Linked DNA regions of Homo sapiens: regions 2, 3 and 4 are each linked to region 1. Evidence: promoter capture Hi-C in 16 types of primary human blood cells and fetal thymus (Javierre and others, 2016). All regions are on one chromosome and are shown on one strand. The core of a region is centred on a gene start or on the middle of the fragment in contact, and the rest is flanking DNA. Distances in the headings are between cores, read along the strand shown. Region 1 holds the start of TAF1D (TATA-box binding protein associated factor, RNA polymerase I subunit D). Region 2 overlaps JRKL (JRK like). Region 3 overlaps CEP57 (centrosomal protein 57). Region 4 overlaps FAM76B (family with sequence similarity 76 member B).

What was found. Contacts are between HindIII fragments. The CHiCAGO score rates a contact against its expected background, and 5 or more counts as called.
Region 2: a contact is called between a fragment that was not itself captured here and the fragment with the promoter of TAF1D in region 1, in 2 of 17 cell types (non-activated CD4 T cells and total CD8 T cells). The highest score is 10.4, in non-activated CD4 T cells.
Region 3: a fragment that was not itself captured here is called in contact with the fragment with the promoter of TAF1D in region 1 in 1 of 17 cell types (total CD8 T cells); the score reaches 7.3 in total CD8 T cells.
Region 4: a contact is called between a fragment that was not itself captured here and the fragment with the promoter of TAF1D in region 1, in 1 of 17 cell types (total CD8 T cells). The highest score is 7.5, in total CD8 T cells.

What each region holds. Positions count from the first base shown.
Region 1 is chr11:93,740,202-93,742,811 of GRCh38, reverse strand. TAF1D (TATA-box binding protein associated factor, RNA polymerase I subunit D) reads left to right here and starts at 1,317. Exons shown (of 6, transcript NM_024116.4): 1 at 1,317-1,490. C11orf54 (chromosome 11 open reading frame 54) reads right to left here and starts at 1,140. Exons shown (of 9, transcript NM_001286069.2): 1 at 1,084-1,140. RefSeq lists enhancers at 448-567, 334-1,019, 1,148-1,657. The HindIII fragment of the contact is 24,379 bases long and covers 1-2,610 here.
Region 2 is chr11:96,392,480-96,395,089 of GRCh38, reverse strand. JRKL (JRK like) reads right to left here. Exons shown (of 2, transcript NM_001261833.2): 2 at 1,529-2,610. Among named protein-coding and RNA genes, the nearest start is that of JRKL, 3.8 kb to the right of the region's middle. The HindIII fragment of the contact is 6,237 bases long and covers 1-2,610 here.
Region 3 is chr11:95,796,843-95,799,452 of GRCh38, reverse strand. It overlaps CEP57 (centrosomal protein 57), which reads right to left. Exons shown (of 11, transcript NM_014679.5): 2 at 65-221. Among named protein-coding and RNA genes, the nearest start is that of CEP57, 7.6 kb to the right of the region's middle. The HindIII fragment of the contact is 3,381 bases long and covers 1-2,610 here.
Region 4 is chr11:95,773,004-95,775,613 of GRCh38, reverse strand. All of the region lies in intron 9 of FAM76B (family with sequence similarity 76 member B), which reads left to right. Among named protein-coding and RNA genes, the nearest start is that of FAM76B, 15 kb to the left of the region's middle. The HindIII fragment of the contact is 4,010 bases long and covers 1-2,610 here.

The DNA.
Region 1 (2,610 bases), core at 68-2,567:
CAGTCCTGGAGCTTCGTCATTGCCCAGACCCTGTGGATCAAATGCAGTGGGCTGCCTAAAGGATCGGACTTTTTATCCCCGGAATTGTCCAAACTATGGAGCAAAGCAGGTAAAGAGACCAGATTACTTTTAAGGCCCGTTCAATCCTAAAATGTGAACTATAAAATAAGACTAGACAGCTTTACTGATTTTTGTGGTTTATCATATGAAAACAGAATTTTGAAAGCGGAAAAATCAAACCAGTTCATTCCTTTTTAAAATTACTTTGGGAGGCCGAGGCGGGAGGATCACCTGAGGTCGGGAGTTTGAGACCAGCCTGACCAACATGGAGAAACCCCCGCCTCTACTAAAAATGCAAAAATTAGCTGGGCATGGTGGCGCACGCCTGTAATCTCAGCTACTGGGGAGACTGAGGCAGGAGAATCGCTTGAACCCGGGAAGCAGATGTTGCGGTGAGCCAAGATCGCACCGTTGCACTCCAGCCTGGGCAACAAGAGCGAAACTCGGTCTCAAAAAAAAAAAAATTACTTTGGGAGAAAAAAACCCCACCAAAACTAAACTAGTTTACACTGTTTAATCTTAACTCAGGAACCGGTCAAGGAACTAATGGTGTGGGGCAGGGGGGATGTAGGAGGAAACTTAGGAAAAACAAATCCTCCACAGGTCTCACTTGTGACATGTTAGCCAACTCCTGGGAGGCAGAAAGGGTGAGCTTACGAAACAGGTGCAAAAGTGGGGAGGAGACCTGGGCGTGCTATGGAATAACACTGGCGTCCAGCACAAAGGTTACACACTTCGAGTCATGGTCAAAGAATGAGCCTTCTCCAATATTTTAACACACAAGGGTTTCTGAAGGCAGAAATAGACAAAGGATTACAAAACACTCAGGCACACATCCCACCCGTCACCCTCGCCACACACCCGGGACCAGATTTAGAAAGCCAGGCGACAGCTCAGCAAACGCGAGACCACCGGAAACGAACCGGGCTGAGAGGCTGTTTCCTCACAGTTCTCATCCACTCACAAGTGACCGCACGTTTTGTTTTTGTTATTTGCCGAAATGTTCTTGGCTATTCCACTCACCTAAACGGTCACGGTAGCAAAACACCCAGAGTCCGGATCTTCGCCTAGGCCAACCCCGCCTCCTCAGAATACGCGAGCTAGAGCTCCGCCCACGTTAGTCAGTCCTCCCTGCGCGGCGAGAAAAATGGCGCCCCCACGTCGCGTCTCCTCCCACCGCTCGCCTTCTTCCCGGAAGCTAAGTTGTATCGCGAGATTTCGGCCTGACTATTACTTGGGCCACGGAAATAGCCAACCCTTTTCTTCCGCACGGTTGGAGGAGGTCGGCTGGTTATCGGGAGTTGGAGGGCTGAGGTCGGGAGGGTGGTGTGTACAGAGCTCTAGGACACCAGGCCAGTCGCGGGTTTTGGGCCGAGGCCTGGGTTACAAGCAGCAAGTGCGCGGTTGGGGCCACTGCGAGGCCGTTTTAGGTAGGTTGCTAAGAGGGCGAGGCCGTCCGGGCCTGGCGGGCGGGGGAGGCGTTGCATATCTGGGGTTTCCCGGGGCCCCTTCGTTGGTCCGGAGGATCGAGACTCCGAAGTCGGTCCGAGAGGGTGAAGGGATCACGGCCGCAGGCCACTCCGCGCCACGCGGCTGGTATGAGTCCCACACAAACGTGGTTGTAGTGTGGACGGGCTTCATTATATCTTGAGATGGAGGTGTTAAATCGTGTTGCGGACAAGTTTAACCTTATTACGTGATTTAAATGATTTAACCTTCGTATGTGAGGTACCCATTACTCGCGCCGGTTTTCTGCAGGTTAGGCGCTGCCGGGTGAGAGGCGCTGGTGGTCACAGCGTTAGCTCCGGGTAAAGCGCCGCTCTCTGCCCACGTGGCCTCTAAGAATTGCAGAATCCCCACGGAGGCATCGACACCCAAGTAGGAGTGTCTTCTAAACACTTCGAAAAAGTGATTATTGAGCTAGCTTTATTTTGATAATCCCTACTTTTAAAAAAAATTAACTACAGGTATACCGTTAAAGCATGGGGGCAAATTTTTGTTGAATTCCGTTTTTGAGCATTCGATATTTAATGACTTTGTAGAATCTTGTACTTAAAAAAACTAGTAAGACCTTGTACCAGGAAAATACCACAGGGGGCATTTAACAAATCTGAGCTCTTGGTGACCTTATCGTTTCATATTTTAAATATTTTGCTAGTTCATCCTAGGATTTATATGTAATGACTCATGTCAGGTCCCAAGAAGCTACAGAATGAGACAAGAGATTGACTAAGGCATGTACAATAATGAAATAAGTAGTTATCTTTAATTTTTGTTGCCATGCCTTTTTTTTTTTTTTTTTTTTTTTTTTTTTTTTTCCTGAGACAGGGTCTTGCTCTGTCGTCCAGGCTGGAGTGCAGTGGTGCAATCTCGGCTAACAGCAACCTCCACCGCGGCTTAAGCGATCCTCCCGAGTGGCTGGGAGCAAAGGCACGGGCCAACACACCTAGCCAGTATTTTAAGAATTTTTTGTAGAGACAAGGGTCTCCTTGTGTTGCTGAGGCTCACTACATACAAGCTCCACCTCCCAGGCTCAGGTATTCCACCTAC
Region 2 (2,610 bases), core at 30-2,529, 2.7 Mb before region 1:
TGAACTTCTTAACCCATCTGGGTGGCTCTGACATTATGATGCTAATGGAGAGTTCACTATGGATGGGAAGCAAAGCATTAATTTTAATTTCCCTTCTAGACTAAGTCCAATTTCTCAATTGAATATATAAATCATAGAGCCAGACAGGGTGACTGGATCACATGCAGATAAGGGAAAAGGATGAAGTCACTCAGGAGCAGCAAAAATCAAGACCAATGCATAGCTTAGAATGTAAAGGGTATACAGAATAGAAATCAGAGGAGAAATGAATAAGCAACTAAATCTTGATGGTTTTTTTACATAGCTCACATCTTGTTATGTTGGTTCTTTTATATGAGCTTACAATTGAGGCAGATGGTTTTGGGGTTTTTTTTTTTTTCAAACATGTATAGTTTTTCCACCTTGATTTCAAGATGTTCAAGGAAAGCAACCTCTTCCCTTTCTTTCATATTTTCCTAAACCCACCACAGCTGGCAGTCTTCGACATACAGTAAAACTCAATAAATTTTTAATTTACTGGATTTCATCATGACAAAGAATTCAACTTTCTACAACCCCCTCGCCACAAAAAAGCCCAAATCTCTCAGAAAAAAAAGCAACATTATAATTTCCTACATGATCTTGTATTAGGTATATCTGCTCTCACAAAATTCTTGACTACTGGAAGTGTAAGAAACATTGCACTGTTATTGGCTTTCTGAGAGTATTGTGTCAAGGCATATCAATGAGAAAAAAATTCATGAAACTGGTGAGAGAACATAAGCCAATGGCAAATTTTTAAATAGATAAATAGAATGCCAAACACAGCCTCTGGTAAGGCACTGATAGAATAGGAATTAGGAGCTAAGGATATACAACTTTGGGGGCAGATACAGAACCCAAATAGCTTTTGGCTTCAACTGCTACAACTACTGATCAGCCTTTATAATTAAGGATAGAAGGATCCAAAACAGGGCTAGAGTACCAGTGTTGGCAGATTTCAGAGAATAGCTGTAAACCAAAGAAGAGCAGTCTCTTACAGGCTAGAGAAAGAGTCACAAGATTCACACTTATGGCCACAGAACAGTGAACCTTTTACTGGGGATTCAAGTTTAAAATCACACAGCTTAACAGTAATGTTAGTTTTACCACTAGGTGGCAATGACACAGCTGCATTGGGCTGACATGATTAATTTTAAAAACTGTGCAAATCCAGACAGAAATTCCAAGATCTGTAGTACATATTTTCATTTTAGAAAAATTATTTTATGTACAGCTTACTTTATAGCAGAACGTGTCATTATCTGATTCAATATGTATGTTAACTTCTGATGGTTTTTCACACTCTACACTGAGGAAATTCATGCAATAAACACTATTTTTAAACACTTTCATCACACATCTTCTGAAAAATATAGACATACACCTATCATGAAAATAAGAGAAATTATGGAAAACTAAAAATACTTTTGAAGTTTTAGTATTCTACAGAAAGCACTATAAAATGTTACGTATTTCAACAAAAAAAGTTAAACCTTTAAAAAATGACTAATAGAGAACAATTGTAATTTATTTTTTAAAAATTTTTGGCCAAAACATGAAATAGCATGGAAACACTTTACTTTTAAATTACAAGTTACATTAATATTCATATGTGCAAAGTAGTTTCAATGTCTTGAATAAACATACTTAGTTTACAAAAAAAATTTATCAAAATTCTGATTTAGATTACATTTTAGCAGATTAATCCCTTTTTATATGTATTAAAATAATAAACAATAATATTCCTTAGTGTCTGGCACTTTCAGTAATTATTTCTGCTTTCTTCATAAAACAGGATACAAACATATGACTTATTTAAAATCATAAAACTTTATTATTGTAATTTCCTTTTCTCATCAAAGGGCCAGATATGACAATATTTTTCAAATTATAGACAACATTTGTGAGTATGCAGTAAAAACACTAAAAAAAAAAAAAAAAAAACTTATTAAATCTCAAATTCCCAAGATGTTCCCCCATATAAGGTGGGAGCTCATATCATCACATGTAACATTACAAAACCTGTACTATAAAATTAGATGAATAAATAATAAACCTATACTATTACCAAATTCATAATAAAAAGATCAACTTACCAAATTAAAATCAGCCTATTTATTCCCTTTGTATAAATAACCTAAAGTTCCCCAGGTTTTTATTTCCCAGTTTCCTACAAATGAATTGATCAGAATGCCTCTTTATAGATCAGCTTTCCCATAGTTTCTCTCTCATTTGGCAATAACTTCCCATATTTACTTCATTTCCAGAATAATCTCCCCCTCTTGCAACCCACACAAATGTAAGAGAATGAAGGCATAATTTCTATAATTCATAATTATTTCCCCATTATTGAATTTCATTTTTGAATTATTATAAATCATCCTGAAATCTAATAATATAAATCTTTCTCATCCTATCAGTCTATTAAAATATACAAAACATCATTTAAGATGGTTAACACAAGAAAAGATAACTATGGCAGCCTTCATAAATCAAGCAAAAGATTTCAGAAAAGTGCTTCAGTCTGTTCAGTTATCTCTAACTTTCACTAGAAAATTAAGGGAATGCCACTGTTACAGAAGGTATAAT
Region 3 (2,610 bases), core at 37-2,536, 2.1 Mb before region 1:
AAAGTTAAGAATTTTAAAGCAGCAAGAAAACACAAATAACATTTATTTCGTTAGGCTCGATTACCTCTGCTGTTGCTTTCTGGATAGGCAAGTGTAGGCTTACTTGGGGAGCGTCGTAGATCACTATTAAGGAAAGGCTTATCCGAAGGATATACTACATATGGAGATGAAGAATGCCGAACCATGCTTCCATTAGACCTTGATGGCTCAGCAAAGCTGTTCTAAAAAATAAAGACACAAATTACCTTTCAAAAGTGTGAACCACAAATAGCAGATTTAAATCACAAATATTTATGACTGAGATTGACTGTCCATACAGACAACAGAAAAAATCCACTGACTAGAAACAATACAATTCAATCATTAAAGAAATACAACTTTTAAAGTGTTTCATATTAGTCTGAATATAGCCATATGCCAGACACAAGAAGAAAATAATGTTCATACAACTTGAATACAAATGCTGTGCAGAAATACTTAAATGATACAATGAATGTAAATACCGCAGTTAAAAATATATACTGTGAAATATACGTTCAGAAAAATAAAAACATTATTTTTACAGGACCAGAAACTGCTACAAATGACTGAATTACTCTATTCCCCATCCACAAACTACTACTTGAATATTTATAGTATTCAAAACTCCAGAAAGAAAATAAGGCACTGTCCTTGCCTCAAATACTTTACATTTAATTAACAAAAAAGAAAATAATTAGAAAACATTAAGGCCCATCAAACACTCAAACATAAAACTTTATTTCCACAGTACACCATTCTGTCATGAATGAGATTCTGTTAAATTTAGGATTCCACATAATAATTTCAACCCAGGAGATGCTAACTGTGGAGTTTTATTTGTTGTAGGCGACTTCCTACTGACAGATGGTCCTAGACTGGGGGAAGTAACTAAGAAGCTGAGGGCTAAGGTGGAAGATATGACTACCAGCTATTCAAAATGTTCATCCACTTTCCTTCCTCAAACGGCCACAGCAAACTATGTTTTTCAATTCTTACCTTTGAAGATTTACATTTACCAGAATAATCCGTGTTCATAAAAGTACAAGAGCACAATGAATATTTAAAACAGTAAACAATCTCCTGAAACAAAGGCTATCGAAATACCTGCACTGTATTTAAATCTTATTTAAAATTAAAGATTTTACTTCCATGTTAAAAATCATGCAAATTTCCAGGTGATTTAAGAAAGCAAATATAAAACATTTTCTATTTATATAAATATAAAACACACTATGGCTATGACAATCAAAAGTGGGGACAAAGAGCTTAGGAGGGTAGGGCCAAGTCTTAAAAGTGGTACTCAAATAAATAAGTGCTAAGTCTACTATAGTATGTTCATATATAACAAAGACTAGTATTTGTCATTTTCCAAACTTAATGGCAAATTGGCATCTGGTTTTACAGGTAACTGGAAAATAGGATGAGTTTTCAATTCTTTATAATATTGTCAAAGGTCTTGCAAAGCATCCTCAATTACTGCATAGCTTAATTTTAAATGTCACAGAGAACCTCAAGTTTTCATTGGTTATTTACAACCCACCAGAATCCTATCATTTAATATTCAAAAATATTAAGTGACTTGCCGACCACCCTCTGCCCAGTCAGGGGAATCCCATTAACTATGTGATTAACTAACAAACTAGTTCCCCAAATGGAACTACCTCTGTTCTACATTTTGTATGTTAGTGGGCTTGCCCTTTACTATTTTATATCACTCCTCATGACATATACATTTTTATTATCTGTATGCCCTGTGGTATAATAAAAAATATATTTAGTCTTTTGTCCTTGGTTTCAGATACAGATTCAAAAACTCCTAGAATTTCTTAAGTGATAGGGTATCCTTGTTAGGCTGATGAAGGGACTCAAGGTAGGGCACCTAGGTAGCTTCAGGTTTGAAGGCATCTTCTGGAAGCTGGTTGCCAGAAAAACCAACCACTAGATTATAAAGAGCTACAGATTTCAGCCAGGCATGGTGGCTCATGCCTGTAATCCCAGCACTTTGGGAGGCCGAGCTGGGCGGATCACTTGAGGTCAGGAGTTCGAGACCAGCCTGGCCAACATGGTGAAACTCTGTCTCTAACTAAAATACAAAGAAATTAGTCAAGTGTGGGGGTGTGCCCTGTAATCCCAACTACTCAGGAAGCCAAGGCAGGAGAATCACTTGAACCCAGGAGGTGGAGGTTGTGGTGAGCCAAGATTGGGCCACTGCACTACAGCCTAGGCAAGAGAGTGAGACTCCGTCTGTGTGTGTGTGTGTTGGGAGGGGGGTGGGGTGGGGGGGAAGAGTCACAAATTTCAGCCCTAGGCCCTGACCTTAGGGGAGGTAAGGGACAGATTGAGCCCAGTGACCAGCGGACAATAATTTACTCAATTATGTATTTATGTAATGAAAGCTCAATGAAAACTCTTGAATAATGAGGTTTGGGGAGCTTCTAGATTGTTGAACATACTGATATGCTGGGAAGGTGCTGCACCAGAGGATACAGAAGCCCTTTCACACCTTGCCCTATGTCTCCTCCATTTGGCTGTTTCTGAGTTGTGTCCTTTATAAAACTGAAATTGCTTAAGAACAGTCTTTCCTGAGTA
Region 4 (2,610 bases), core at 47-2,546, 2.0 Mb before region 1:
CAGATTAATGAAACTAAGGTGAAAAGCAGGTCTTCAGTAGCAATCATTCCTCACATTAATATTTCCTTCCAGATAATGGGAAAGGAGATGGGTGTATAAAACCAATTCTTAAGGACCTGGAGTGGCAAAAATGTGTGCAAAGCAAGAGAGTTTACTTAACCTGTGTACAGTGGTTCGCAAAGTGCCAAATAGGGTTCTGCTAAATGCTAACAGGTAGTGATCCACCTGAACCTCAGAGTACTGCAAAGTAGCAGTTTAAGTATACAGAACAACTGAATGGTAAAGTCAAGAGTCACCACAGTAATAATCTGATGTCTGGCATGCAGAGATGGTGAACATCCAACATGGATACAGAATGCTACCATATTAAGCTGCTTCTCTTCTAGGTTTCATACATTTAGAAATCAGACCACACTAAATTAATTACATGTTCTCTTTGATTTATACAGTCTCACATTTGTAAAATTAGTCTTTAGTAACAAAATTTTTAAGGTGAAAGAAGTTTTAAATGTTAATGGAAGATGGCAGCACACAGACGTCAGACTTGGGAGAGTACAGCTTCAGAAGGAAGGAGTTAATACTGTCCTGTTTCATTTTGTTTTTTTTTTTTCACATTGTAACACCAAAGGATATTTGCTATTTCTTTCTTTTGGTTTTGTATTATTCATACTTCTTTGCAAGTAGCTTAAATTAGTAGGATTTAGGAACTTGCTCAAATTCGAGGTACAGATTATCTGGTCTTAATCCCTATCATACTATTACAAAGACTGTTGAAAAAGGAACCTCATGTAGAACCTGAGACATAGTAGGCATTCAAATAATTTGTTGACTAGGTGGTGATTTATGGAAATGCCCATCAGCCCTCTGTTCTGAGAGATTGCCCGTATCATATATCAGATTCTTATATATTAGTCAATGTTTTTATCCACCAGCAAGTATTATTTTTAATTTTATGTTATTCCTGTTTTTCTTACTCAGTTATTAATGCTGAATGATTACCTGGAACAAAATCTTCCACCTGGTGATCTTTGATTTAATGTAATGTAACCAAAGCTCTGAAGTAAATCCAGAATGAGATAACAGAATAACTGCAATAGGTGCTCAGATATGTTTTAACTTAGTGCTCCCCACTGTTCAAAAGAGCAGTTTGTGTGTTGGTTTTTCTTTTTTAAAATCATAGTTGCAAATACATGGGGTCATCTTTGACTTAGCCTGATAGATATCTTAGGCCTACCTCCTCTTGGTAATTGAAGTTTCATGTAGTATAAAAGTAACCAATATTTAAATAGGACATTTTGACATGATTTTACATATGCTGTCTTACTTGTTGCAAAAACTGGGTTATGTGATATGCCCATTTTACAGAGGAAACTGTGATCACACAGTAAGCGGTGACGTAGAAATCTCTGTCTTCTCACTCCAGTTTATCTATACTTTTCCCTGTCCTACACTAGTTCCCACCACTTCAGGTTCCTCAGGTTTTCTATTTCATCCTTCCTATCAGGCCACTTCCCTGATTTTTTTGTGTTATGGCTAGAGACAATCTGTCATAGCTGAGTGCCATCTTTTTACCTCACTTCCTTTAGCAACCAAGTGATACTAGTAGGATTCTTTACTGAGGTGAGGAAACCGGTAATTTTTTTTTTATCTTTATGTAATAAGGAATTGAATCCTGTGACACAAGATGGATCTTGCTCTAATAGCTAGTAAAATATTTTTAACTGCCAAACCTACGACAAAACACTGAACATCACATGAAAAAATTGTTCAAAATGTCACCCCAAAATACCCCAAATATTGAAAATACTAAGAATATCAAGTTAAAACTCTTATTCACTTAATTAGGTAAGTGGTTAAAAGGAAAAGGGACCTAACATTTGAGTGCCTTCTGTGTACCAGGAACTGTGTTAGGCTAAGTGTTTTATATATTTGATAAGTTCCTTCAACTCATTTTGAGTTCGGATGGTGGAGTTTGTGTTACAAATGAGAAAATATGCTCCAGGTTATGTAGCTGGTAAGTAAGCCAGGATTTAAAGCAGGATCTATGTAATTCTTAATCCTGATATTCTTTCCTTTGCACCAACATGTCTAAACTTTAAAACTTAGCTTTCTTAAGAGTCTGTAAAGAATTTCATTGATTTTTTTTTTTTTTTTTGGCTGGCTGCAAAATGAAGTAATTTTAGGATAAAACAATTTAAATGTACATATATTGAAATATGGCATAAAATTCATTTTTAAAGTATTCAAATTAGAATAATTTGGACTTGTACTTAACAATTGTGTTATTTATTTACCATAAAGACTTTTGTCTTATGTAATTTATTAAGAAATATCTTTATTAGTGATATAAATATATTAAAAGCAAATTGGAAATTAGCTACCAAAGCATTAAATGGAAAAATTGCTTTGAAGACCTAATGTTCAAATTATTGTATTTTGTACTTAAAATATGAAAATTATAAACACTTTATTTCTTGATAATTGAGATAAGAACTTGGAGATTCACATTTTAACTATTTTGTATCAGTATAAACATTTTTAGATAAATATAACTTAACAGATCTAGTGGAGATCTTTTTGAGTCAAATTTGCAGACTCAAAATTTGAAAT